2 separate regions of the Homo sapiens genome follow, and region 1 is linked to region 2. Evidence: promoter capture Hi-C in 16 types of primary human blood cells and fetal thymus (Javierre and others, 2016). All regions are on one chromosome and are shown on one strand. Each heading gives the region's core, a stretch centred on a gene start or on the middle of the fragment in contact. The rest is flanking DNA. Distances are from core to core; before and after follow the strand shown.

Evidence for each region. Contacts are between HindIII fragments. The CHiCAGO score rates a contact against its expected background, and 5 or more counts as called.
Region 1: a contact is called between a fragment that was not itself captured here and the fragment with the promoter of LAP3 in region 2, in 2 of 17 cell types (naive CD4 T cells and total B cells). The highest score is 5.7, in naive CD4 T cells.

The regions. Positions count from the first base shown.
Region 1 is chr4:17,637,360-17,644,312 of GRCh38, reverse strand. FAM184B (family with sequence similarity 184 member B) reads left to right here. Exons shown (of 18, transcript NM_015688.2): 13 at 2,085-2,257; 14 at 4,917-5,063. Among named protein-coding and RNA genes, the nearest start is that of MED28, 26 kb to the right of the region's middle. The HindIII fragment of the contact is 1,854 bases long and covers 1,688-3,541 here.
Region 2 is chr4:17,571,728-17,578,447 of GRCh38, reverse strand. It overlaps LAP3 (leucine aminopeptidase 3), which reads right to left and starts at 1,250. Exons shown (of 13, transcript NM_015907.3): 1 at 881-1,250. The coding sequence starts at 982. RefSeq lists enhancers at 703-902, 1,243-1,602 and a silencer at 973-1,182. The HindIII fragment of the contact is 2,285 bases long and covers 268-2,552 here.

The DNA.
Region 1 (6,953 bases), core at 1,365-3,864, 65 kb before region 2:
ATCAGGGATATTGGTCTAAAGTTCTCTTTTTTTGTTGTGTCTCTGCCAGGCTTTGGTATTAGGATGACCAGCATCACTTTTCATAAAGCCTTTGGTGGTTCCCATTGGAGAAAGCTCCAAATGCTTCAACTTGGCATTGAAAAGCTTCCACCACTGATTATGACCTGTATGTCCTGCCATATTCCCTGCGGCTCATAAACCCGGCATCTGCACCCTCCCTTTGGCCTTCGCCTGTGCCACTCCTCCTGCCTGAGATGCTGCCCAGCATATCTCATGCTGGGGGCCTTCCCTGGCACACAGTGGCCCCCTCTGGCTCTGAGATCCTGGAGCACTTGTTGTCAAGACAGCTCAGCTGGCTCTAGGATCTACCGCCCGGTCCTGTTGGGGACATGCCATTTCATAGATGTCCTTGTTGCCTAGACTGGATCAGGAGTCTTTTGAGGATAACCTGTCTGCCTGCCTCATCGCCTCCCCACCCCCACTCCCAGCCCTCAGCAGGGTCTCCACCAGTGCCTGTGGGTGGTGAGGATTCATTGGTGGCCAGTCCTGCTGAAGGACCGGGGGACATGGGAATCATGTGTGCCAGATTTAGCTGTTGCTGAGCATAGGAAGGCAATTTCTGTGTTTATGTGAAAAATATTAACAAATGATGAATCACAGGTTAGCCCAGTGGTTAGGTCTAGCAGAGGGAAGACAGAACGTGTTCCATTAAGTGTTTAGATGGGTGGGAGCCACTGGTACCAATGGGAGGGGACGGGAAATGTGGGATGGAGACAGCTGGGGACTGGGCCATGGAGGGAGTCAGTGTTCACCTGAGGGCTCTGGATAGAAGCCAAGGAGCACTGAGTACATGAGCCGATACGTGGCCACCCATGCACCAGCCCTCACCTTTGCCCCATAGGAGGGAAGCCCTGAACCCTCTAGAAGGAAAGTGTGGTCTCAGGTGATACCCCACACAGAGAGGAGATGCAGGGGTGTCGGCAAAGAGGAACAGCCCAGGCAGCAGGAGTCAAAAAGGAAAGGGGAGGGGACACAATGCCAGGCTGCAGGCCCAAGCTGGCCACCGCTGAGCTAAGTGGAGTCTGTCCTACTGGGATCTAATTCTCATATCTCTCCCACCCAGAGACCCAAGAGGGGAATGCATTTTTCCATCTGTTTCTGTCCTCCATTGGTCAAGGATTGTCCCCACAGAGCAGTAACCCCCCTGCTCTTGCTCTTCCAGGCTATGCATGTGAGAGTGCCAAGTGGGTGCCCACGGGCATCCCACATCATGCCAACCCCAGAGCAGGAAGGCAGAGACATGGGGCCTGGGCCACAGATTCTCCCCGTGCACAGCTGTGCAATTACTGTGTGCAGTGAACTAATACATGCACAAGTGGTCGGGCATGTTTGAGTGAATTTGAAAACTGGAACATTCACTAATCACAGATTAAATCTGACTCCATTTGCTGTTGGACAGCAATTTTTGTGTTTCTACCTGAACTACAGACATTCTAGCACAATTCTGTTTAGCAAGCATTCACGTGGCACCTATAGAATACACCAGGCTAGGTGCTACAGGGTTGGAAAGATGAAGAGAGGAATAGCTCCCAATCTAGCCAAGGAAACCAGCATGGACACATATTCTCTTCAGTGTCACCCCTTACAGAGCCAGAGTTAGCAAGATTTGGTGGTATTAGAGAAAGCTTATCAGTTCCCCCTGAGAGGTAGGGAAGACTTCACTGAGGCAGTATCACTTCACTGAACACTTAACTTCACGGAGGGAAGACTTCACTGAGGCAGGCATGGAGGGCACCCTGGCAGGTGGAGTGTGGAGTGTGGTTGGTGTTCATTTGGATGCAAGACCCATTCTTAGCTCAGCAGTTTTATTAAACTCTAAGGGCCAGATTTGGCCAACTCCCAAAGGAGGAAATTTTTTAAGAGACTAGATGGGAGTCCCTGCAGGGAACTCAGGAGCCTGCCACAGGCTCCAGCCTGGGCGGGGTGCCAGTGGGTCTCCATCTCGCCGCAGCACATCTCTGGCCCTTTCTGCCTTGTCTGCCCCTGCGCCTCCTGAAAACACCTCTCCTGGTTGCCTTCCTCAGGAGCGGGGCGGCCCGGGCCAGGCCGGCTCCCCACCGGGCGCTGCTGGGCAGGGTTCCGGCGAGGGATGCGGGCTCTGGGAGGAGAACGCGCAGCTCCAGGACGCGGTGCGGCGGCTGCGCGCGGAGGTGGAGCAGCATCAGCAGGAGGCGCAGAAGCTCCGAGACCAGCGCAGGTGGGTGACCCGGCGCGCCCCGCCACCGCGCCACCCTCACCCCCTACCCCGCCACCCCCCCTCCCCCTACTGCGGCTGGCTGAGCCTGAGACCTGAAATGGGTCACTGCCTCGGCATCCTGCCCCACAAGACACTAGACACTGAATGCGCCAGCATTTCACAGATGTTACTCCTCTGACCCATGAAAAGTCCCAGAGCTCCAGAAATTCTGGATCTCAAAACCGCAGAGGAAGTGCCTTGAAATAAAAGAGGGAGTCTGGCTGGGCGCGGTGGCTCACGCCTGTAATCCCAGCACTTTGGTTGGCAGAGGCGGGCGCATCACGAGGTCAGGAATTCGAGACCAGCCTGGACAACATGATGAAACCCTGTCTCCACTAAAAATACAAAAAAAAAAAAAAAAAAAAAAAAAAAAGGCCGGGCGTGGTGGTGTGTGCCTGTAATCCCAGTTATTCGGGAGGCTGAGGCAGGAAAATCGCGTGAACTCGGGAGGACCAGGTTGCAGTGAGCCAAGATCGCGCCATTGCACTCCAGCCTGGGCGACAATGCAAGACTCCGTCTCAAAAAAAAAAAAAAAAAAAAAAAAAAAAAAAAAAAGAGGGAGTCCTGTTTGTTTCCCTGCAAATCAGGGCATTTATGAGACTGAGAATTGGACCAAAAGTGTCATCAAATCCAACCTTACGGAGACGGTGTAGTGGAATAGTTCAGACCATGCGGTGTCTTCTTAACTAGCTGTGCGCTCTTAATTAGCTGTGTGAGGTTGGGTGAGTTAGCTGACCTCTCCCAGACTGAGTCCTCTGTAAAATGGGGATAAGACTCCAGCCTCGGCTGGCGTGGTAGCTCACGCCTGTAATACCAGTACTTTGGGAGGCTGAGGCAGGCACATCACTTGAGGTCAGGAGTCCAAGACCAGCCTGGGCAACATAGTGAAACCCCGTCTCTACTAAAAATAGAAAAATTGGCCAAGCGTGGTGGTGCATGCCTGCAGTCCCGGCTACTCGGGAGGTTGGTGAGGGGGGATTGCTTGAGCCTGGGAGGTGGAGGTTGCACTGAGTTGAGATCGGGCCACTGCACTTCAGCCTGGGCGGCAGAGCCACAATCTGTCTCAAAAAACAAAACAAACAAAACAAAAAACCTGGCCTGTCAGGGCTGTTGTAGAGTGCAATGGAATGTGTGCAGGAGGCTTGGCATGTCCCTAGCATGAATGAAACGCTTGGTTAATTGTAGAAGTGAAAAACCTATCATCAATCCTGAACTCAGAGCCTTTCTTCCTCTTGTTGGAAAGCTTTTAATACAAATTCAATTTCTTTAAAGACACAGGATATTTCATATTATCTATTTCTTAAGTGAGCTTTAGCAGTTTGTATCTTTCAAAGAATTCGTCTATTTCATCCAAGTTTTTGAATGTCCTAATGCCAATCATAAAATTGCTCATAATTTTTTTTGTCATTTTAATGTCTGGAGGATTCCTTTTTTTTAATATTTGTCAGCTGTGTACACTGAACCCTGTTGTGTTGGCCCAAAATTGCTTTGAGCCTTGACTGTGCTTGTTCATTTATTTTCTTTTTTTTTTTTTTGAGACAGTCTTGCTCTTTTGCCCAGGCTGGAGTGCAGTGGTGCCATCTCGGCTCACTGCAACCTCCACCTCCCAGGTTCAAGTGATTCTTCTGCCTCAGCCTCCTGAGTAGCTGGGATTACAGGCGGACACCACCATGCCCAGCTAATTTTTTTTTTTTTTTTTTGTATTTTTAGTAGAGACGAGGTTTCACCATGTTGGTCAGGCTGGTCTCGAACTCCTGTCCTCGTGATCCTCCCGCCTTGGCCTCCCAAAGTGCTGGGATTACAGATGTGAGCCACCGCACCCAGCCCAATTTAATTTTCATAACCACTTCTTTTGATAAAGGTGAGGGATAAAGATTCAGGGAGTGGCCAGGTGTGGTGGCTCACGCGTGTAATCCCAGCACTTTGGGAGGCTGAAGCGCATGGATCACCCGAGGTCAGGAGTTCGAGACTAGCCTGGCCAACATGGTGAAACCCCCCGTCTTTACTAAAAATACAAAAAATTGGCTGGGCCTGGTGCTGGGCGCCTGTAATCCCAGCCACTTGGGAGGCTGAGGCAGGAGAACTGCTTGAACCCGGGAGGTGAAGGTTGCAGTGAGCCGAGATCGTGCCATTGCACTCCACCCTGAGCAACAAGAGCAAGACTCCGTCTCAAAAAAAAAAAAAAGTTCAGGGAGGCTTTCCACTGCAGTGTAGTTGTTAGGGAAGACCTGGTCTCCCAGGTCTCAGAGTCCCAGCGTTCAGGCCATACTGATAGAGAATCTCAGCCTCTTGCCTCCCCGCCTGTCCCAAGTGAAGAGTGTGTTTTCTGGGGCTCCCCTGCAGGGCTGCTCTCCATCACTTCCACCTGAAGTCTGTCCCCATGCTCAGGTTTCTCCTTCTGAGATGGGAGGGTGCTGAGAAGGGGTCCCATAGTGGGGGTTTGTCCTGGACTCCACAACTCAAGAGACTTCAGCTCTTCTTCCCACAGGTGTCCTTAGATCACAATTTCTCCCCACCCAGATCTCCCAAACTGGGCAGCGATGAGGGAAATAAACCCCAGAGCCCAAGGGGTGCCATCCCTGGAGCTGGGCAAGCCTGGCTGTGCTTTCATCCACCACAGGTTCCTGGAGGAGACTCAGCAAGCCCAGCGGGCCAGGGAGGTGGAGACACTGCGCCAGGAACACCGGAAGGAGATGCAGGCCATGGTGGCAGATTTCAGTAGTGCCCAGGCCCAGCTCCAGGCCCGGCTGGCTGCCCTGGAAGCCGAGTAAGTGAGGCCTCGGGCCCCAGGGAGGGTCTTGCAAATGTACCATTCAGTAGGGTGGCCAACTCACCCCAATGACCCTGGGATTTCCTGGTTTTCAAATTGAAAGTCCTGGGTTCTGGCCAGGCACGGTGGCTCATGCCTGGAATCCAGCACTTTGGGAGGCTGAGGCAGGTGGATCACTTGAGCTCAGGAGATGGAGACCAGCCTGGCCAACATGGCGAAACCCCATCTCTACTGAAAATACAAAATTACAGGTGTGGTGGCACACGCCTGTAATCCCAGCTACTCTGGAGGCTGAGGCAGGAGGATCACTTGAGCCCAGGAGGCAGAGCTTTCAGTGAACGGAGATCAGGACCCTGCACTCCAGCTTCAGCAACAGAGCAAGTTCAGGGCAGGAGGCGGGGTGTGGTGGGGGGAACTAGCCAGGGGCTCATCAGTCTCCCTTCATTTTATGAGGCTATGTTCCCCTTTTCTGCAGGGCAGTGGGAATTTGTGAGGATGAGCATTGGTTTAACCCTCACACTTCGAAGAAATCAGAAGGATCAGGGCTGCTCAATTAGAATTGTTATTCCCACTGGTCCCTCATGCAAACATATTGCATTTATTCATTCAACAAATAATTGTTAAGGACCCATTGTATGCCCAGCACTGCTTTAGGCTCTGGAGTTATAGCAGGGAACAAAACAAAGACAATGCTCTCATAGGCTCACAAATTCTGCTGAGAATTCGGATAAGAAATAAGCAAACAGGCTGTGCTTGGTGGCTCATGCCTGTAATCCTAGCACTTTGCATGGCTGAGGCTTGAGCCCAGGGTGGACTGCTTGAGCCCAGGAGTTCGAGACCAGCCTGGGCAACATTGTGAAACTCCGTCTCTACAAAAAATACAAAAAAAAAATTGCTGGGCATGGTGGTGTGTGCCTATAGTCCCAGCTACTTGGAAGGCTGAGGCGGGAGGATCGTCTGAGCTCAGGAGGTTGAGGTTGCAGTGATCTGTGATTGCACCCCTGCACTCCAGCCTGGGCTACAGAGAGAGAAACTCTGTCTCAAAACAAAACAAAACAAAACAAAAAAAATAGACCCTGTCTCAAAAAAAAAAAAAAAAAAAAAAAAAAAAAGCAAACAGTTAACATCATACCAGGCGGTGAAAGTGCTGGAAGACAGGATTGGGAGTGGCAAGGGTGGGCAAAACAAGGCCTCTGTGAGGAGGTGATGTTTAAGTACAAGGAGGTGAGGGCACTCCTGAGGCATCAGTGAGAGGGAGGGTGAGTGGGAGGAGAGGAGCTGGGTGAAGGGACTCCTGCCCTGATGGGAAGGAGTTTGGATGTGTTCAGAGTGCCCTGGGAAGCCTTCACAAGGCACTGGGCAGGAGTGACATGGCCTGACTTGCCTTTTCACAGGGTCACTTCTGACTGCTGAGAAGAAACAGGGGGAGGGGGTGACTAGCAAGACCATTTAGGATGTGATGGCAGCAAGCCAGGTCCAAACAGGTGAAGCCACTTGCCCAAGGTCAGGCAGCATTAATTCAGTTTAAATGTCACCTGTCTGACCTTTAGCCTGAGCTCTTAAAAACTTCTCCAGTCTCCAATACAAAGCAAATCATCCAAAAGCCAGCAGGAAAGGTTTTACCAGTTACAGTCTAACGGGCACTTACTATATGCCAGGCTCCCATTATCACATTGAATTCTCACAACCACCCAGTTTCATGCCCATTTTAAAGGAGAGGGAACTGGGGCCCACACACAGGTGAAATGATGCCCAAGGTCACATATCTAGAAAAAAGAAGAGCCAGTATTAGAGCCGGGTCATCTCACCCAAAGCCCTGGGCTCTTATCAACTCCAGTCAGTAGATTATCTGCACCCCCAGCCCTCCTCTCCTCACCACCCAGTTAC
Region 2 (6,720 bases), core at 1-2,500:
CACCAAAGAAAACGGCCTTCCTTGGCATTGGTAACTCTGCCAGGTTCTAACTTCCCTAAGATTGTTCACTCCCCGGGAATCAATGGAGCCAACTGAGCAACTGTTATCTGGGTAGGCTGTGGCACAGTACTGGAGATAGCACTGGTCAGGCGACTGGTCCCTCCACCACTGAGATACCTGCAGGAGACTGGAGCTCAAGCTCCCCCTAGAACGTTCTTCTGCAGGGACAGTCATCTCTTTCTGGTGCTTAGGCATGACTCCCAAGCTTGTGCTGGTTCCGAGAGCCATTCCCTTTGCAGATCCTTCACATCTGAAGAGCGACCTTCGTAATTTTTTGGAGTTCACTTTTCTTCTGGAAGATGCTCTTAATTCTGGGAAACGTGGGTCTCTCCCCAAAGCCCTTTTCTCTAGAGAGGCATGCTTTTCCTCTAGAAACCCTTCCAAGCTACTTAACTCCCTGACCTTTCACTTCCGCGGGGGAAGGAGCCCTGTGACTCTGGGACCTCAGAAACCCTTTCACCTTGGCAAACTCGGGCTTCCTCCAAGCTCGGATGGGAGCCCCACCGCCGCGTCTTTCCCCGGGTTACTGCCAGGACCGCGGGTGACGACTGGAGCAAGTGCGCGGCCGAGTGGAGCCGGGTAAAGGGCGGCTACAACCATCACCCCCTAGCCCCGAGCAGGGGAATCGCGCCCTCAATACGACCGCTGGGGTCCTCAGCGGCCTAGGCCGATCCCCGCAAGGAGAGAATTTTTCTTTTAAACTGATTTTTGCAACTTGGCTTGGGCGCCCAGGACACCGCGGCTTCGACCAGCCCCGCAGCCCCAGTAGCCCACGGGCAGGGCCCCAGCGGCGGACCATGAGCGAGCCGCCGCCTCTCACCTTCGTCATGTCTGCGGTGGAGAGACTCCGGCTCCCGAAACGTCTCACGGCCAGACGTCGGACGACTACTCGCCCCGCAGCCGGAAGAGGCAGCAAGAACATCTTGTCGGCTCGGCCCCTCGCACCGCCCTCCAGCGAGCACGTGGAGAGCGGTGGGCGGGCGCGCCTTGGGGCGGGGCTTTCGGGGCGCAGACGGCGTGCGCGCGGACTGGCTCGGGCGCCGGGCGAGCGGACGTGCGTCTAGGGGGCGGGACGGATGGGCAGCACCGGCCGACTGGACCGCTGGGATCAAACCGCGGTTGTGGAGGGGACTCAAGGGTGCGCCCGCATTCGTGTGCGCCCGCATTCGTGTGCGCCCGCATTCGTGTGCGCCCGCGCATGCGGGCGGGGGCGAAAAGGCGGGGCTTCCGGACGCGGTTGACAGTCCCGGGAGCAACGCGAAGTAGAGGGGCGGGACCGATATGGTGACGTCACACGATGGGTGGGGCGGAGGCGGGGCGAGTTCTGCAAGCGGGCGTGGGCGGAGCGCTGGGCAACTCCCGGGAAATAGAAACTGAGTGCCAGAGCTTGTTGTCAAGGTTGCTGAATAGACGACTGCATAGTGAAGACACTCCCACTGAGTTTTCGTTTGTTTGTTTGGTTTTTTTGAGTCGGAGTCTCGCTCTGTCACCCAGGTTGGAGTGCAATGGAGCGATCTCGGCTCACTGCAACCTCCCGCTGCTTAGTTGAAACGATTCTCCTGCCTCGTCCTCCCGAGTAGCTGGGATTAGGGGCGCCCGCCACCACGCCCAGCTAATCTTTGTGTTTTTTTGTTGTTTTTTTGGATTTTTTTTTTGAGGCGGAGTCTCGCTCTTGTAGCCCTGGCTGGAGTGCAGTGGCGCAATCTCGGCTCACTGCAACCTCCGCCTTTCGGGTTCAACAGATTCTCCTGCCTCAGCCTCCCGAGTAGTTGGGACTACAGGCGCCCACCACCACACCTGGCTAATCTTTGTATTTTTAGTAGAGACAGTGTTTGGCCATGTTAGCCAGGCTGGCTTTGAACTCCTGACCTCTGGTGATACACCCGCCTCAGCCTGCCAAAGTGCTGGGATTACTTACAGGCGTGAGCCACCGTGCCCGGCAACTCTTTGTATTTTTAGTAGAGACGAGGTTTCACCATGTTGTCCAGGCTGGTCTCGAAGTCCTGACCTCGTGATCCACTTGCCTCGGCCTCGCTAAGTGCTGGGATTACAGGCGTGAGCCACCGCACCTGGCCTGAGTTATTTTTATTCGTGTCCTTTCATCTGTTCCACAGGTGCAACGGTGTAAATACTGTTTTTGAAAATGATGTAACACTATTAGGTTCGTTGACTCGTGCACATAGCAAGTCAATACGCCCAGACACCAGGGTTGCAGCAGAGAAAGAGGTGTAATCGTGGAGTCGCCAAAGGAGGAGATGGGAGGAAACCTCAAATCCATCTCCCTGAGGAATTTGGGGTCAAGGTTTTTAAGGGTTTTGGAGAGGGCTATAGTGTGGAGATCGTTGATTGAAGAGTGCAGGGTGAAGTCATGGGACAGGGCGTTGAAGAACCTGTATTCTTAAGCTGACCCCATTCCTCTCTGGGGATCTTCAAACTGGTAGCTGGAATTCAAGGTCTGAAAAATATCTTAAGCGATCCTTAAACAGAAAGCTTATGATTCTAATGTCAGAGATCCTGTCTATAGGAACAATGGGAATGCAAATGGTCAGTATGTAGTGCTAGGTGACTTTTAGCAACAAGGAAGTGGGCCAAAGTACAGCCTGATTAATGCTTAATTATAACTATATTTCTGCCTAGAACTTGGCATGAAATTTTTGTCAACACAGTGGGGATGGTTTCAATAGAAAGTTTTCAAGTAGTGCTCAATATTTTTATATATTTTTATTTTCTGTAAAGCGTTTTGTTTTTTTTAATTCCTTATTTTTTACTTTTTTTTTTTTAACGGAGTCTTGCTCTGTCACCCAGGCTGGAGTGCACTGGTGTGATCTCAGCTTATTGCAACCTCCACCCCTGGGTTCCAGCGATTCTCCTGCCTCAGCCTCCCAAGTAGTTGGGATTACAGGCGCCCGCCAACACGCCTGGCTAATTTTTGTATTTTCAGTAGAGATGGAGTTTCACCATGTTGGCCAGGTGGGTCTTGAAGTACTGACCTCAAGTGATCCACCCGCCCTGGCCTCCCAAATTGCTGGGATTACGGGCGTGAACCACCGCGCCCGGCTGGTTTTAAATTTCTCATTGTAAAAAAGTACACAGCTGAATGCAACTCGGAGAATATGGGTAAGCACGAGGAGGGATACAAAAATTGTTCTTAATAATGACACCAGCCAGCTGGGTGCAGTGACTCATGCTTATAATCCCAGGACTTTGGGAGGCCGAGGTGGGAGGATCGACTCAGCCCAGGAGTTCAAGACCACCCTGGGCAAGGTAGTGAGATACCCATCTCTACAAAAAGTTAAAAAATTAGCCAGATGTGTGCCTGTAGTCCCGCTAATGGGGAGACTGAGGTAGGAGGTTTGCTTGAGCCTGGGAGGTTGAGTCTGCAGTGAGCCATAATTGTACTACTACACTCCAGCTTAGGTCACAGAGCAAGACCCCATCTCTTTTTAAAAAAATTACACCACTGTTGATCTGATTGCAATTTTAGCTGAGGTGCAGGGGTGTGGGGAGGCTTACACCAGCTGCAGTGAGCAAAGTCTTCACCTTGAGCTCAGTTGCAGGAAAGAAAGAATGTCTATTTCACTCTCCAAGAGCTAGACACTCCAGAGGAGAGATTTGATCTTCCTCTCTTGAAGGCTGAGTGGGTTGGACTGGTAGGTCCACTCTGGCTTCCACCTTCTCTAGATAGTTAAAATGGAGTTGCATCATAAACTCAATAAACTCACCAAATTTTATCTATATTTGCTCCAAAGACAGCGAAATCTTTACATTCACTTTACAGCTCTTCCCTCCTTCCAACGTGATAGATCAGGCCGCAGTTTCTGAAACTAAAAAATGGAATGCGAAAACCTGTCCCCTCCTTGGTATGTGAGTAGAGGGTCTCTGAGCTTCAGAGGCATCCAAGCCTCAGAGCTGTAGGTTACCCTTGTCTGTATCTGCTCAGCTGAATTTATTACCTGTTTTATTGACTTGCGGGTCCAGCCTGAGACTCTGGTGTATCATTTACTTTTCTCTTTGCTTCAAGGACCACACCATTTACATTTTCACATGCCTAATGGTACAAAAGAAAAGTACATTTCACAGTCTACAAATAATCAGGATTGTGGATCACTTTGGGATGAAAGATTTAGTCATCCTTCAAACCCTAAGTTTACAAGGTGCTTAAGATGTTTTTCTGTTAGAAATCATGGGATAAAAAAGAATCTAAAACAGTGTCCCTGTCTTCAAGGATTTTATTATTGTAGAGGGGGCAAAACTTAACCTCTACCATCTTAGGGTCTCCAGCTGGGCCTGAGAATTAAGTTGACATAAGACAGATTAACGAGAAAAACATATTAATTGGCTGGGCACAGTGGCTCACACCTGTAATCCCAGCTCTTTGGGAGGCCAAGGCAGGTGGATCGCTTGAGCCCAGGAGTTCGAGACCAGCCTGGGCAACATGGCAAAACCCTGTCTGTACAAAAAATACAAAAAAAACAGCCATATGTGGTGGTGCATGCTTGTAGTGCCAGCTGCTCGGGAGACTGAGGTAGGAGGATCACTTGAACCTGGGAGATTGAGGCTTCAGTGAGGCATGATTGTGCCAGTGCACTCCAGCCTGGGTAACAGAATGAGACCCTGTCTCAAAAAATAATAATAATCATATATATATATATATATACACACACACACACACACACACACACACATATAAATTTTATTTAATAGTTTTGCACGTACTTGGAAGCCCTTACAGGAAAATCGAGACCCCCCAAAATGGTTAGGCCTAAGTGCTCATATACTAGGTTGAACAAAAATAGTAATTTTGAAAAAGTATATTTATATGGGAAAACTAAAGGAAATAAAGGTTAGTCTAACAAGAGTTGTTTGTACAGATTTCTCTCGGCCTTGACTCTCCCTCTTTGGTGATAATGTTCCTTTCTTTCTGGTGCAGGGAGGGCAGCATTCACATGAGAGCTGATCTCCTGCTTTCAGGAAGTAAAGAGAGGCCAGAGTACCCTTCTTGCATCTGCTGTATTTTAAGTGCCTTTAGCTCAAAAAAATCTTTATGTCAAAGTTTTATATTCTGCTGTCCTCTATTATCTAGTAGAGGCAAGAGATATGGTGATTGTAAAAATATTGTTATAAAAAAAGAAAAGGCAGTGTTTCACAGAGTTATATGTGCATATGCTCCTGTTCCTTCTGCTCCCTTCTTTGCTTGACCAATGCCACTTCTTCCAAGAAATACTTGCTGACCTTCCCTGTCTGGGTTATGTGCCCTCCCTCTGCTCCCAAAGCGACCTGTCTCAAAGTGCCAATCACCTGTATTCTTGCAACTGTTCAATGGGTTCTCCTTGCCCGCTGCCTAAACAGAGCCAATTTATCAAGACAAGGAATTTGCAACAGAAAAAGAGTTTAATTCACACAGAGCTGGCTGTATGGAAAACCACAGTTTTATTATTACTCAAGTCAATCTCCATGAAAATTTGGGGTTCAGAGTTTTTAAGGATAATTTGGTGGGTAGTGGGTCAGAAAGTGAGAAGCGCTGAGCTGGGTGCCGTGGCTGATGCCTGTAATCCTAGCACTTTGGGAGGCCAAGGCGGGCGGATCACCTGAGGTCAGGAGTTCAAGACCAGCCTGGTTCAATATGGTGAAACCCTGTCTGTACTAAAAATACAAAAATTGCCAGGCGCAGTGGCTCACGCCTGTAATCCCGGCACTTTGGGAGGCCGAGGCAGGTGGATCACGAGGTCAGAAGATCAAGACTATCCTGGCTAACACGGTGAAACCCCGTCTCTACTAAAAGTACAAAAAAAAAATTAGCTGGGCGTGGTGGCAGGCGCCTGTAGTCCCAGCTACTCGGGGAGGCTGAGGCAGGACAATGACATGAACCCAGGAGGCGGAGCTTGCAGTAAGCCGAGATTGCGCCACTGCACTCCAGCCTGGGCAACAGAGCGAGACTCCATCTCAAAACAAACAAAAAAAATAAAAAAATTAGTGGGCTGTGGTGGTGCACGCCTGTAATCCCAGCTACTGGGGGAGCTGAGGCAGGAGAATTCGCCTGAACCCGGGAGGCGGAGATTGCAGTGAGCCGAGATTGCACCGCTGCACTCCAGCCTGGGCAACAGAGTGAGACTCTATCTCAAAAAAAAAAAAAAAAAGAAAGAAAGAAAGCAGCAGCAGCAGCAGCAGCAAGATGGAATCAGCTAGGGCAGCAAGATGGAATCAGTTATGTCAGATCTCTTTTGCTGTTATAATTTTATTTTTCTTTATTTTTTTTCTTTTTTTTTGAGATAGAGTGTCACTCTTGTCGCCCAGGCTGCAGTGCAGTGGCGCGATCTTGGCTCACTGCAGCCTCCACCTCCCAGATTCAAGTGCTTCTCCTGCCTCAGCCTCCCCCAGGTAGCTGGACTACAGGCATGTGCCACCACGCCCGGCTAATTTTCTGTATTTTTAGTAGAGACAGGGTTTCACCATGTTAGCCAGGATGATCTCGATCTCCTGACTTCGTGATCCGCCTGCCTTGGCCTCCCAACGTGCTGGGATTACAGGCGTCAGCCACCGCTCCCGGCCTGCTGTCATAATATTCTTAGTTATAGTATTTGCAAAGGTGGTTTCATTCTCATTGTCTTTTTCCCCCCACTCATCTAGGGAGCCATGCCTTTTTCATCTCTGCATAGCCAG